5 separate regions of the Homo sapiens genome follow, and regions 2, 3, 4 and 5 are each linked to region 1. Evidence: promoter capture Hi-C in human tissues and cell types (Jung and others, 2019). All regions are on one chromosome and are shown on one strand. The core of a region is centred on a gene start or on the middle of the fragment in contact, and the rest is flanking DNA. Distances in the headings are between cores, read along the strand shown. Region 1 holds the start of CHST8 (carbohydrate sulfotransferase 8). Region 2 overlaps PEPD (peptidase D). Region 3 overlaps CHST8 (carbohydrate sulfotransferase 8). Region 4 has its middle 5.9 kb from the start of PEPD. Region 5 overlaps CHST8 (carbohydrate sulfotransferase 8).

Region 1 (2,765 bases), core at 73-2,572:
TACGGGAGTGATAATGTCTACTCTGTTGCTGCAAGAATTAAAGGAAGACCATGATCTCTTTGTCATGCTTCTATTTATCTTCTTATCTGTCCTGGTCTATTTTTGGATGCTCTGAGCTTACCTGGGGCATTAAGGAGGCCTCATGGCCCTGGGGCTGAGGGGCTCCCTGGCCGTCCCCAGGAGTGGCTCTGCTCTCCGCCTGGTGTCCCCCACTCTGGTCAGTCAAGACCCATGGGCCCAGCTCACTCCCCAATTCCATCACTCACTCTAGGTCAGCTGGTAGGAGTCAGGCCAACCAGCCAGCAGGTACCATTAGAGAGGAGAGAGTAAGGGTCTTTCACTTTATTAAAGGCTTCTCTGCTGTTGTTTGAAAATACTGAGTGTCCCTTCAAGACTAACAGGTGACTGTGTGCACAGTTTCCTCCAGCTCCTGTGAGAAAGCAGTTGCCCCCCTTCCCAAGGCCTGCTTGTCCCCTGCAGGCTGGGGCTGCCTCTTCTTAGGAAGAACAAGGACCCGAATCCAGGGCCCCGTGTTCCTGTCCCTACTCTGTCCCGGTGCTGTGTGGCCGTGGGCCGGTTCCACCCTCCACGCTGTTTTCCCGAGTGTGTATGAAGAGGGTCGGTTGGCCCCGCTCTCAGGCTGGTGACCCGACACAAACTTCCAGGATGAAGTCCTGAAGGGAGCACCTGTTCGCAGGGCACTTTCAGCAGAATCTAGAGCCCCAGGGATTTGAGGATGGATGCGGACACCCGGGCCTGAGGCAGCTCGCGGCCTTGACCGAATTCCACGCGAGCTGAAGCCCAGGGATATCCCAGAATCTTCCTCAGGATCAATCTTCCGCCTTTCACCGGCCCTGCGCCCCCGCAGCATCGGGTCCTGGGCGCGCGCCCCTGCCCCGCTGTGGTCAAGGCCCGCCCCGGTGACGCCTGGTCCTTTTCCCGGGTTGGCGCCGCGTGCGACCCACCGAGGCAGTGGCAGCACTGGCCGCGGTCTGGAGCCTAGCGTCAGGCCGGAGTCCGGCTCTCCTGAACCGGGAGACCGGCGCAGCCCCAGCCACGACCGCTCCCACCCCCGCGGCCGCCGGACCGCGCCCAGCAGCGACTCTTTCTGAGAGCGCTGCCAGAGGGGCCGCGGGAGCCGCAGAGCGCGCGTGGGCGCGGCGCCCGCGAGCCCCCGGGAGGGCCGAGTGCATCGCTGGAGCGATCCCCGCCCGGCCCGGCCACCGCCGTAGCCGCCACCACGGCGGGGCGGGGCACGGGCCGGGGGCGGGGCGCCGGGCGGGCGCGGCGCTATTTCCAGCCTCGCCGGAGGCTTCGCTCTCACTTCGCTGGGAGCCTTCCCGGCGCGCAAGCCGGATCCGGCAGTGCTGCGGGGAGGAGAGAGGACGAGGCGGCGGCGGCAGCAGGAGGTGGGGGACCGATCGCGCCGGGGGCCGAAGAGGAACGCCGCCCCGCGCCCTCTCGCTCCCCGCACGCTCCGGCTGCCGGCCCCACGCTGCTCGCCCACAGATCGCACTGGGTTCCGCTTGGAGCGGGCGGAGGCACCGGGCCCGAGCTGGGTCGGAGGTCCTCTCCGCCGCCTGCGCGCCCCAAGCAGAGGATCCGCCGCGGAGAACCGCTCCCGGACTGGAGGCGCCCGCGGCCTCGGGTGCGTCCGCTGCGCCAGGTAAGTGGCTGCGCCCCTGCCCCACCCCTGTTCCCGCCCTGCGCAGGCTCCTGGCCTGCAGAGACGCCAGGAAGGGGTCCCGAGCGGGCCCCGGACTGCACCGCTCGCCATCCCCGCCACCGCACGCGAATGGGAGTCCGAAGCTGCGGGCGGAGGTGGGCGCGCGGGGCTCGGGTCTGGTTGCACTTTGGGGACCGGCCCCGGTAGCGGGAACTTTAATTAGACTTTCTCTCCTTGGATCTCACTCGCTGCCGCGCTTCTGGGAACTGCCGTCCCTCGGGCCCTCTTGGTCCCTGCGGACTCCCGCTCCGCCTCCTGGCCCTCGGTGCTGCCCGCGGGGAGGCGGCGTCGGGCGCTGAGCAGCGAGCGCCGAGGGCCAGGCAGGAGCGCTCGGGGCGCTGGGGCTTCCTGGCGCGCTCGGAGCCGGGGCTCCGGACGGGTTGCGGCGGGCAGAGACTATGGGGGAAGTTTAAGTGGCCTTGGCTTCCTACCCAGCGGCTCCGTCGCGCGCGTCCCCGACCCGCAACTCTCCAGGGCACCGGCCTGTGAGTGCTGGAGGCGAGTGTGCGTGCGTCAGCGATGGTGTGAAGGTGTGTGCGTGCGTGTGTCGGGAGTGCGGGAGTCGGAGCCTGGGGCGGCTCCAGGGGGCGGGGAAATGATCCGTTTGGCCGCGGGACCGAGCCGAGCTCTGACGGCGGCTGCAACTCCGGCTACCGACTCTGCAGACCCGCTCTGGCCTCGCTGGAGGCCAGCCGGGCCAGGAGGGCGATCACGGGTTTTGGCAGTGCCCGATGCTGGGGCTTGGGTCTGATGTGACCCCGATTCCTTCTCCAGTGCGGGACTCCCGCCGCCCTAACTTTCGCGTACATCTTGTCTCCAGGCCCGCGACCCCGACCCGGAGTTGAAGCGGCTGCGGCGCCCTCGGCTGTGGGCGCTGCTGCCCGGCTGTCTGTTTTAACCCAGAAGTAGGCGCCGATCCTGGGGCTCTCTGTCCTGCAGTCGTCTCCGGCGTCCCAGAGGACTCTGCGTCCCTGGGCCACTCCCGCTGGCTCAGGAGCCGTGATCAGCTCCGTTAAGGGGAACGCGCGTCCCGGCCCCT
Region 2 (2,765 bases), core at 156-2,655, 120 kb before region 1:
GATGCCCTACATGTCCCTGGGACTGGGCAGGGAAAGAGTGCAAGAGGAACGTCTGGGGAAAAAGAACTGGACGTTCAAGACAAATACAAGACAGTCAAGGGCAGGGTGCACATCAGAACACAGTCAGCGTCCATGGTGTCCACAACTTGGTCCTGAGGGCTCAGGGAAGGGGCACCAGTGTGGGCCAGAGTCTACAGCAGATACAGTGGCTGCTACAAGGCTGGTGCAAGGCCTCAAAAGATGGATAGGAGAAAGACAGAGAAATGGAAAACATATTCCAGGACAGCAGTACCGGGGGCAGGGCTGGGCACATGGTACTGGCCCACCTGCAGTCAAAGAGGGCTGGCCACCCCCGAGCTGGATGGGCCGGGCTGGGCCCCCACATGCTGGGCAGAGACAACTGGTCTCTCACAGCACTGTGTCTGGCCATGATCCCTGGGAACCTGCTTCTCACCCAGTGCCGTCATCTTCAACCAGGCTGTGTCCTGCCCAGGGGAAGGGGGAAGCTGCTTGGCCGCCAGAACTGGCTCCCCTGGCCACTTCCACACTGCAGCCCCGGCTCTTAGCATGGCCGACACATAATCTCTGTCTGGGGAAATGTGGCTACAGGATGGCCCTGTCCAAAGCTGATGCTGCCAGGTCCAGGTTGGACTCCCAGTGGCAGGCATTGACTTCTGGGTGCTTCACATTCTACACGGCACTGACCTGCACAGGACGTGGGGTTGTGACAGCGCCCAGGGCCAGAGCACAGAGGCCTCCTGTGTGCCAGGCAGTGGTTTAGTGTCAGGGCCTTTGGTCAAGTAGACCACAGGGGCTCCCAGCTGTGCTCTCGCCTCTGTCCCAGCCCTGCCCCACTGGCAGGAAGGAGAGCTGGAGTCGAGGAGTCAGGGCAGCCCCTTTGACCTGCCTGAACTTGGTTGGCACAGATTCAAAACCCCAAGAGGACAGCCACATGCCTACCCAGGCCACACGACACCTGCTGGACAACCCCACTGAGAAGTGGATTGAAGTCAGGGGACCTCCAATGCTACTCTACAAGCCTTTCACAGCCTCGGGCTTTTCTGACAGTGGCATCTGCAGTCAACCAGGGCTCGAGACACACGAAGACCCCGGCCCAGCCTTGTGGTGACTTAGACCGTGTGCCACCGCTGCAGGCAGGCCCGCCTCTCAGAGACACCTCATGTAATCTCAGCGGCCACAACCCAGGTCACCAGACACTTCTACCCACAGAGTCAGGGGCCTTCCCAGGCAAAGCAATGGCTCCGTAGAGAAGCCTGAGGCATGGGTTGCTGCCTACTCCTTCCAAATGGGAGCACCTGCGGCGCAGGGACTGGTGGCCAGGTGGTAGTGTCCCTGACATCCAGCAAGGTTGTGGCAGTGGAAGGAGAGGAACTCCAGGAGTGGAAGGCATGCTGGAAGCCCTGGGCTGCTCAGAGGAGGAGCCGGCTACCCACCTCATCTACGTACTGGACGTCGTCCACGGCATACTTCTCCTTGAAGTGCTCCTTGGAATGGATCCTCAAAGAAAAGCACAAGGAATATCAGGGTCAGGGCTTGGTAATGGCTCAGCATGGCCACCTTCCTGCCTGCCAAGCCCAGGCCATGGAGCCCCAGTCCCATCCCTATCACGGTCAGCACCCAGCACCCAGCACCCGGCACCGAACAGGTCGGCCCAACACACACTTGGAGGGCAAAGGCCATTAGGCCATGGAGTGACGGCTGAACCACAGCTGCTTTCCTCAGCAAGCCCCGCTCCTCCGTGACCCTAGCCACCTGCAGCCAGCCCCTGCAGACAAAACCCCTATCATCCCCTCCACTGCCAGAGACAGTCCACCAGGGCAGCCAGCCAGTGCACCCGTCCCTCTGTGGCATAAAACAATCTGCCTGCCAGGTCTTCATGGAGCATCTTTAAAGGAAAGTTTATTTTAAGGTCAGCCGCAGAATCCCAGCACTTTGGGAGGCCAAGGCAGACAGATCACAAGGTCAGGAGATCCAGACCATCCTGGCTAACACGGTGAAACCCCATCTCTACTAAAAATACAAAAAATTAGGGCGCGGTGGCGGGTGCCTGTACTCCCACCTACTCGGGAGGCTGAGGCAGGAGAGTCACTTGAACCCAGGAGGCGGAGGTTGCAGGGAGTCAAGATGGTGCCACTGCACTCCAGCCTGAGTGACAGAGCGAGACTCCATCTCAAATAATAATAATTATTATTATTACTATTTTATTTTATGTTCTAGAGACAGCATCTCGTTCTGTCACCCAGGCTGGAGTGCTGTGGCACAATCATAGCTCACTGCAGCCTCAAACTCCTGGTCTCAAGCAATCTTCCTGCCTCAGCCTCCCGAAGTGCTGGGATTATAGGCATTAGGCACTGTGCCCAGCCAAAAATTAGCATTTTTAGAAAGTCAGTATCAGTATTACTCAATGTGATGAGAAAAACTCAAGCTTATTCATTACCCCTGAAAAATCTGCCAGTGAGAAGACACAGAATGGATGAGGTTGGGCAGCCCTCGTCCACCTCCTGATGGGCCCTTTGGTCACAGCTGTGCTAGGCAGACCTCCAGCCTGGGTCCAGCAAGCCACCACCCCCAGGCTCTTGGTCAGGAGATAAGTCAATGTCTCTGTTAGTGACAGAGCTTACGCAAGGGGAAAGGAACACAAACTGCACAGGGGAGACACTGAGAGCCAAGTCCAATGACGCACACATACTCGGTCCTATGTCATCCCACACCTGGGCCCCACCTCATCACACGGGCTCTATCCC
Region 3 (2,765 bases), core at 164-2,663, 120 kb after region 1:
AAATCTAGAAATGTCTGAGTGTTCTCCTTCCCCAAGTGTACACCTGTTTAACCAAATGGCTGTGGGTCCTGTTGGGGAAAGACTGAGAAAACATTCCCATGTGTATTTGCCATGATGCCATGGGGTTCTTCTTGGGGATGTGGTCTCTCCTTTGGTCACTGAGTTCTGGATCTGAAAACTGGGTGTATTAGTTTGCATTGTGTTTCTATAAAGGAATACCTGAGACTGGGTAATTTAAAAGAAACGAGGCTTATTTGGCTCATCATTCTGCAGGCTGTACAAGCGTGGCACCAACATCTGCTCAGCCTCAGGAAGCTTTTACTCATGGCAGAAGGCGAAGGGGTAGCAGGCATGTCACATAGCGAGAGAGGGAACAAGAGACATGCCAGACTCTTTTAAACAACCAGTTTTCATGTGAGTTGACAGAGCAAGAACTCGCTCATTACCATGGGGAGGGCAACAAGCCATTCATGATGGCTGCACCCCCATGACTGAAACACCCCACCAGACTCCACCTCTACATTGGGGATTTCATTTCAACATGAGATTTGGAGGAGACAAAACATCCAAACCATAACAGTGGGCAAAGAACTGTGCCATTTTCTTGGGACAGCTGATCACCCCTCCTTGATTTGTTTTTGTTGTATATATCGGCTTGTCGACCACCTGACTTTCTTGTTTTTTGGGATGCCATGTTTTGGTGACCACCTCCATAGCTCTCTGCAGATCAGCCCCTCTTGGCTGCTACACCAACATTGCTACTCAGTAGGACAAGTGTGCACACTTTGGTTATGATGGCTAAGTACCACCGTGTGGTTTCTGTTATTTTACAATCCTATTGTCCCCCATCAGTCTCGGGGTGTCCAGGTCTGTAGTGGCACTGCCTACATTCAGCCCTGTCCTACAGAGGAGAGGCACTGCTGGGCTTCTCACTCATGCTGGTGCTTCCTGAACTCTCTGGGCTGCAGAGGCATTCTGCCCTCTGCAATATAGGCTGGTGGCCCTCTGTTCATTGAAGACACTACAGAGATCTCTGTCCTACAACACAACATATGCCCCCTGATCCTCCTTCCCCTCTCACCAGTGTGTTCTATATTGCTTTAGAAAGGGGTGGGGGTATCTTCTAGGCAGTAGTGGATTTTCCAGCTTTCCCTAGCATGTCCACTGTAGCATAACCACCTTTGGGAGCCTTTTGATCTCTTCCTGCACTATCTACCACAGCAATTCTTTTTTTTTTTTTTTTTTTTTTTGAGACGGAGTCTCGCTGTTACCCAGGTTGGAGTGCAGTGGCGCGATCTCGGCTCACTGCAGGCTCCGCCCCCCGGGGGTTCATGCCATTCTCCTGCCTCAGCCTCCCGAGTAGCTGGGACTACAGGCGCCCACCACCTCGCCCGGCTAATTTTTTCTATTTTTAGTAGAGACGGGATTTCACCGTGTTAGCCAGGATGGTCTCGATCTCCTGACCTCGTGATCTGCCCACCTCGGCCTCCCAAAGTGCTGGGATTACAGGCGTGAGCCACTGCGCCCGGCCTACCACAGCAATTCTATCATCCCTGCTTCATTGAGTGTGGGCATTGCTTTCTGCACGTATCTGAGAGCCATCTAGCAGCATGTCTGCATCGTCTCCTGGGGTCGTTGCTGCACTGTCAGATCCTCTAACCCAAGAGAATCCTCCCTTATCAATTACTGCTCTATCCAACTTTGTGTTCTGCTTTTTTCTTTTTTTCTTTTTTTTTTTTTGAGATGGAGTCTCACTCTGTCGACCAGGCTGGAGTGCAGTGGTGCAGTCTCGGTTCACTGCAACCTCTGCCTCCCAAGCTCAAGTGACTCTCCTGCCTCAGCCTCCCAAGTAGCTGGGATTACAGGCACCTGCCACCACGCCTGGCTGATTTTTGTATTTTAGTAGAGACAGGGTTTCACCATGTTGACCAGGCTGGTCTCGAACTCCTGACCTCCGGTGATCCACCTGCCTTGGCCTCCCAAAGTGCTGGGATTACAGGCATGAGCCCCCGTGCCCAGCCTCTCTGATCTCTTGTCTACCCCGCACACCCTGCCCCAGCGTCAAGGTCTATGTGTACTCTCCTGGTTCCTGCCAATACCTGATTTCTGGATCCTTCTTTTCTTTTGGGGTATAGTTCCTTTCTTCCCTTAGCAAATCTAGCACTTCCCCAGTGGGGACATGCTGTGATTTAACCGTAGTTATTGGTCTAGTGGAGAAAAGGTGGGGGCAGATTCTGAGGAAGGCATGTGTTATGTTGCAGGACAGAGACCTCTGCGGTGTCTTCAATTAATGGAAGACCACCAGCCTGTATTGCAGAGGGTGGCGTGCTTCTGCAGCCCAGAAGATTAGAGGAAATCTGGGAATTCAAGACTTTCACAGGCATCGACCTACAGTCCCCAACGCATTTCTCAGGGTCCTGTTCCTTCTCAGCCAGGTGCCTGCCATTGCCAAGAGTCACCCTTCAGAAGCTGGATACTCTTCCTTTCTCCCCTTCATTTTTTTTTCTTTAAGAGACAGTTTTGTTCTGTCAGCCAGGTTGTAGTGCAGTGCTGCAATCATAGCTCACTGCAGCCTCGAATGAACTCTTCGGCTCAAGCAATCCTTCCACCTCAGCCTCCTGGGTAGCTGCAACCACAGGTGTGCACCACAACCCCCACCTAATTAATTAATTGATTTATTATTTATTTATTTATTTTGAGACGGAGTCTTGCTCTGTCGCCCAGGCTAGAGTACAGTGGCATGATCTCAGCCCACTGCAACCTCC
Region 4 (2,765 bases), core at 136-2,635, 94 kb before region 1:
TAATTATTTTTAATTTTGTATGTTTTGTAGAGATGGGGTCTTACTATGTTACCCAGGCTTGTCTCAAACTTCTGGCCTCAAGGCATCCTCCTGCCTCAGTCTCCCAAAGCTCAGGATTGCAAGGCATGAGCCACTGAGCCTGGCCTCAACTGTTCCTTTTAGGGACTCTGCTCAGGGTGTCATTTTAAGAAGGATGCTTGTCATTTTAGGATGGTGTCATTTCTTTTCTTTTCTTTTCTTTTTATTTTTTTTTTTTTTGAGATGGAGTTTTGCTCTTATTACCCAGGCTGGAGTGCGATGGTACAATCTCGGCTCACCACAACTTCTGCCTCCTGGGTTTAAGCAATTCTCCTGCCTCAGCCTCCGGAGTGGCTGGGATTACAAGTGCCCGCCCCCACACCTGGCTAATTTTTTGTATTTTTAGTAGAGACGGGGTTTTGCCATGTTGGCCAGGCTGGTCTCAAACTCCTGACCTCAGGTGATCCACCTGCCTCGGCCTCCCAAAGTACTGGGATTACAGGCGTGAGCCACTGCACCTGGCCAGGATGGTGTCATTTTAAGAAGCATTTCATGAAAGCACCTGCCGGTCCTTCTGTCCATGCCACCATCAAGATGAGATCACCTGTGTCTCCTCCCGCTCCATCCACTGGGATTGCTCCTGACCCCACCCCTGTCTGCACTTCCTCCTCAATGTCTTGTCTCTCCTCCAGCCTCTTCCTTCCCGTGGCTCTTTTGCTGCTCACCTGCATAACTACTTGGCTGCAGTCCCTTCTCATTCTGAGCCCCGACTCGTCAAGATTTTTCTGTAGCAAGCAGCTCCTGAGTCTCACCTCAAGTAGAAGAGGGATACATTCAAATGCTGTCCAGTTGCACAGTTGCAGGAGAGACAGACTCAGAAAACAGGCAGAGGCAGGGAGGCTGGCAGCTGAGTGCACCACCAGGCTACCCCCAGGACATGGCAGCTGGCACAGCTGCTCAGACCCTTGCCATCACTCTGCCCTTGGGCGTAACTGGGACTGATACAGTGTCCTGGCTTCACCCCCTGCATGCTCAAAGCGCTTGATGGGCAGTACAGCCAGTTGCAGTGCCCAAGTCTCATGCCCACACCTTGGCTATCATGTCCCTTTTGGCTTCTGCTGGGGGTGGGGATGTGTGTATATGGGGTGAGATGAGGTGGGGGTAGATACACAAAACCTACCCCCACAAGTAAAACCTTGAAAAGTTTAGCTTGGATAAAAGCCTGAATATTTCAATCAGAATGTCTAGAATGCAGCTATTTTCGTTTTAGCATAAGTGTGAATTTCTTGTTTGATGGTTTGGTATAATTTAAATTTTTGATTTACATGCCGGGGGACAGGATACACAATTGTCTTTCTTTTTTTGAGTGATGGGGGGACAGGGTCTCCTTCTGTCGCCCAGGCTGTAGTGCAATGCCACCATTATAGCTCAACCTTAAACTGCTGGGCTCAAGCGATCCTTCAGCCTCAGCCTCCTGAGTAGCTGGGACCACAGGCGTGTGCCGCCATCCCAGCTTATTTCCAGTGTCTTGGCTCTGGAGCTCTTACCTAGCTCTGCCTCCATGTCATTGCCAAATAAATATCCCTGAGCACAAAATGCTCGAATAGAAACTGTGTGATGGAGAAAGAAGTGCATGGACTTCAAAGCCAGAAGCCTGGGCTTGACTCCTGGCAGCTTGACGTCTCTGGTCCTCGCTTTCCCCGTTTGGAGATGAAGATGGGATGGGCTTTACCTCCCTGACAGGGCAGTTCCAAGGGGTCAGATGACCCCTTGAACACTAAGGCCCTTGGGGGCAGTTTAACATGATGCAAATGTGGTGGTAGTTACTTTCCTTATTGATACTTACTGCTCTTTTTTTGTTTTTGAGACAGGGTCTTGCACTGTCCCCCAGGCTGTAGTGCAGTGGCACAATCATTGCTCACTGCAGCCTCGACCTCCTGGGCTCAAGCAATCCTCCCACCTCAGCCTCCCAAGTAGCTGGGACTACAGGTGTGCATCACCACCCCCAGCTAATGTAAAACATGTTTTCTGTAGACATGGGGTCTCACGGTGTTGCCCAGGCTGGTCTCAAACTCCTGGGCTCAAGCAATCTTTCTACCTCAGCCTCCAAAGTGCTGGGATTACAGGCATGAGCCATCATTCCTAGCAGTACTTATTATTAGAGAACCTGGACACAGTGGTTAGGAATTGGATGTAGGAAGCTAGGTCCGATTCCTGGCACTGCTATTTACTTGCTGTGTGGCATAGGGAAAATAACCCAACCTCTCTGAGCCTCAGCATCCTCATTGGTAAAATGGGGACGATGGGTCCCAGCTGGGAGGATTGTTGAGAGGATTAGATGAATGTCACAGGAGACACTCAGCTCAGCCCCTGGCTCATGGGGGTGCTATCCTTATTTCAGTGGTCATGTGAGGGGTAGGGGCAGTGAGGAGAGACAAGCATCCTTATCTCCCAGGTGTGAAGGTGGGGGAGATGACCTGTGAGGTCACTGTAGCCCTGCTCAGCTACAGAGCGACCTTGACCGAAGGAGTGAGTCCATAACCCCAAGCCCAGGGGGCCAGTGCTTAGCCCCTTTGAGAGGACTGGCTGGGACCTGGGGTTGCCACACCACCTCAAGCAAGCAGGCTGGCAGTCCAGCCAAACACAGCAGTGCTAAAGGGAAAGAGAGGAACAAGGGTGAGCAGGAAGTCTTCCAGGGTAGGGGAGATGCTTCCTCGCTACACCCAGGGCCTCTGGTCCAGTCCGGG
Region 5 (2,765 bases), core at 192-2,691, 85 kb after region 1:
GGGCTGAGACCTGCCCCCTAGGCCCTATTTGGCTCCATGCCTGCTCTCCCTATACCCCCTGGGAGGACACAGAGGAGGTGGGTCTCCTGGTGGGAAGGGGATGCTAAGAATTACTTCCAGCCCCATAGGACCCCCATGAAGCCAGACCCCAAGCGGTCCATGAGCAGAGCATCTCCTGGGCTCCGCTGACCAACAGTGGCTGCACAGAGCCCCTCAGTGGCATTGTTTGGTTCAGCAGCCGGGAGCCCTGCCAGATACCTGTTCACTGTTCAGGTCAGGCAGGGGACCTGAGGGGTCGGGGAGGTGACTGGTCAGCAGAGATACAGGGAAGGCAAGGGCCAGAGAGTGGGGTTCTGGGGAGCGCACCTAATTAAAACCTCCTTCATTTACGCACAGTTACTCACATGCAAATATTTGCACCCACTGACAAGCTTCTGTTGCTGTAGCAAAGGAAGAATCAATTCAAGCAAAGCTTTCCTGCGAGTGGGCACTCTCTCCAGTATCTACCTGGAGATGCGGGTGTGGGTGCCCGTGGGTGTAAATGGAGGAGGATTTCTGACTTGGCAGCCTGCTTCCCACAGTGATGGGGTGTGGCAGGCATGGCCACCCTGGCTCCCTTTCTGCCCCCCTAGGGCACCATGGCAGCCACACTCAGCAAGGGTCCCTTTGGAGAGGGGCCTGGCCTGGCCCAGCAAGGGACTCTGCAGATTCGCCTTCCCTGCTGCCTCTGTGTCACAGCGATGTCCCCAGTACTAGGAGAGGGACCCAAGAGTCCTGAGAGCATTCAAGGAGGTGGCATCCAGGGGTGTGGTATGGGCAATGATGATGGTGTGAGCACTCAGTGCCTACTGTGTACCAGGCACTGTGTTTTACATGCTTTACCAATATCCTCATGCCAGAGCCTCGCTGTACCCGTCTCTATTTTATAGATGAAAAAACTGAAGCACAGAGAGGCAAAGTCACTTGCCCAAGGTCACACAGCCAGGAAGTATCAGTGCTTGAACTAAAACCCGGTTCCTCAGATCCCAAAAGTCTGAAGTCTTCTTGGTGACCGGACAACCACTCAGGGCTGGGAGCAAGCACCACACTATGAGATGCATGGCATTGGAGGGCCAGCCTGGGTTAGAGGTTGGGGAGCTGCACGGCACTGCCCTTCAGACTGTCAGGGCGTGCTTCATTCCTGCTCACAGCAGACATGTTCTGGTTCTTGTGCACACGTGTGTGTGTCCTGATGAAGAGTCAGGTGCCCATGTGTGTGCATGTGTGTGTGCATCTGGCCCTCACCCATAATCCTAGCTGTGTACAAGTATGTGTGCTCACCTCAGTATTACTATACACCCATGGGTGGACAGATGCCTTACGGTTCATGTGGAAAGCACTTCACCCTGAAGTCTGGGCTGGCTGCTGTGAGCGTACCCTGACAATGTCACCTGCCAGGTCATGGGGCAGGCAGGGGCAAATGACTTGGGCCCCACAGAGTGAGTTGTCTGTCGGTTGTCAGCCACAGGATTGGGTGACAAATTGCCATTCCAGCAGGCACTCAGCAAAGCCAATTATTGTAACCCCTTGCCCACGACCCGCACAGACCAAATAATGAAATTACATTCATAATATTTCAGGTCAAGTGATCGCTGCTTGAATTAGTTCCTTCCCAGAACCCAGCCAGAAGTAGCGGCAGTAATTAAAGGATTTTCTGGGCTTAAATCAACTGTGCGCGTCAAGCGTGTACAACACACAGAGCTTGCAAAATGTGTGCAGGCCTCGTCCCTTCACTGGGGAGTGAAAAGGACAGGCCATGATTGTGGGAGGACCACAGGCCGGGAGGAGGTGTGTTATTCCTGCCAGGGAAATTTTCCACTTTCACTCACTTATTTTAGAGACGTTTACTGAAAGATCCCTGCTCCAATGGGGCCTCACAGTGAGTAAGGTGATGGGGACTTTCTGGGGTCCACCCTGACTCCTCCCAAGCAGGTATTTTAGCAGTGTTGCAGGGGTAGGGTGCTGTGTTTCCCAGACTAAAGTGCAGGTCAGAGTTCACTGCAGCTTTAAACTCCTGGGCTCAAGCGATCCTCCCACCTCAGCCTCCCCAGTAGCTGGGACCACAGGCACATGCCACTGTGCCCGGCTAACTTTCCAATTTTTCTGTAGAGACAGGGTCTTGCTGTGTTGCCCAGGCTAGTCTTGAACTCCTTGCCTCAAGTGATTCTCCTGCCTTGGCCTGCCAAAGTGCTGGGATTACACGCATGAGCCACCTAGCCTGACCTAATTTTAGGATAATTCCATTGCCCCCGCCACTAAATCTTTTGTGCCCACTTCAATCACTCCCCATTTTCACCCTCAGCCCCAGGCAACTACAAATCTCCTTTTTATCACTATAGCGCTACCCTTTCTAAACATTTCATATCAATGTAATCATACACTGTGTGGTCTATCATATCTGGTTTCTTTCACTCTGCATGATGGTTTTGAGAGTCATATTTTTTGATATTTACTCATATCAGTTTGTTTCTTTTTATTGTCAAATAATATTATTCTATTACATGGAATTGCGGTTGATCTGTTCACCAGCTGCTGGATACGGGATTGTTGATACTTTTGGCCATTAGGACTAATGCTGCTATGAACATTCATGTGAAAGTTTTTATGCAAACCTATGTTTTCATTTTTCTTGGGTAAATATTTAGGAGTAGAATGGCTAGGTTGTAATAGTAAATTTACGTTAAATTTAAGGGATACTGACAAACTGTTGGCTAAAATTGCTGTAC

What was found. The method cuts DNA at HindIII sites, captures the fragments that hold promoters and counts their contacts. A contact is called where the count stands out against the background at its distance.
Region 2: a contact is called between a fragment that was not itself captured here and the fragment with the promoter of CHST8 in region 1, in 3 of the 25 tissues and cell types used here (dorsolateral prefrontal cortex, liver and spleen).
Region 3: a fragment that was not itself captured here is called in contact with the fragment with the promoter of CHST8 in region 1 in 2 of the 25 tissues and cell types used here (dorsolateral prefrontal cortex and small bowel).
Region 4: a fragment that was not itself captured here is called in contact with the fragment with the promoter of CHST8 in region 1 in 8 of the 25 tissues and cell types used here (H1 embryonic stem cells, dorsolateral prefrontal cortex, heart left ventricle and 5 more).
Region 5: a fragment that was not itself captured here is called in contact with the fragment with the promoter of CHST8 in region 1 in 7 of the 25 tissues and cell types used here (bladder, dorsolateral prefrontal cortex, lymphoblastoid cells and 4 more).

The regions. Positions count from the first base shown.
Region 1 is chr19:33,620,631-33,623,395 of GRCh38, forward strand. CHST8 (carbohydrate sulfotransferase 8) reads left to right here and starts at 1,323. Exons shown (of 5, transcript NM_001127895.2): 1 at 1,323-1,666. RefSeq lists an enhancer at 284-1,028. The HindIII fragment of the contact is 24,734 bases long and covers 1-2,765 here.
Region 2 is chr19:33,499,484-33,502,248 of GRCh38, forward strand. It overlaps PEPD (peptidase D), which reads right to left. Exons shown (of 15, transcript NM_000285.4): 4 at 1,455-1,518. Among named protein-coding and RNA genes, the nearest start is that of PEPD, 21 kb to the right of the region's middle. The HindIII fragment of the contact is 5,542 bases long and covers 1-2,765 here.
Region 3 is chr19:33,742,070-33,744,834 of GRCh38, forward strand. The region is part of intron 3 of CHST8 (carbohydrate sulfotransferase 8); the gene reads left to right. Among named protein-coding and RNA genes, the nearest start is that of KCTD15, 53 kb to the right of the region's middle. The HindIII fragment of the contact is 3,245 bases long and covers 1-2,765 here.
Region 4 is chr19:33,526,309-33,529,073 of GRCh38, forward strand. No RefSeq gene overlaps it. Among named protein-coding and RNA genes, the nearest start is that of PEPD, 5.9 kb to the left of the region's middle. The HindIII fragment of the contact is 5,201 bases long and covers 1-2,765 here.
Region 5 is chr19:33,705,091-33,707,855 of GRCh38, forward strand. The region is part of intron 3 of CHST8 (carbohydrate sulfotransferase 8); the gene reads left to right. Among named protein-coding and RNA genes, the nearest start is that of CHST8, 85 kb to the left of the region's middle. The HindIII fragment of the contact is 7,606 bases long and covers 1-2,765 here.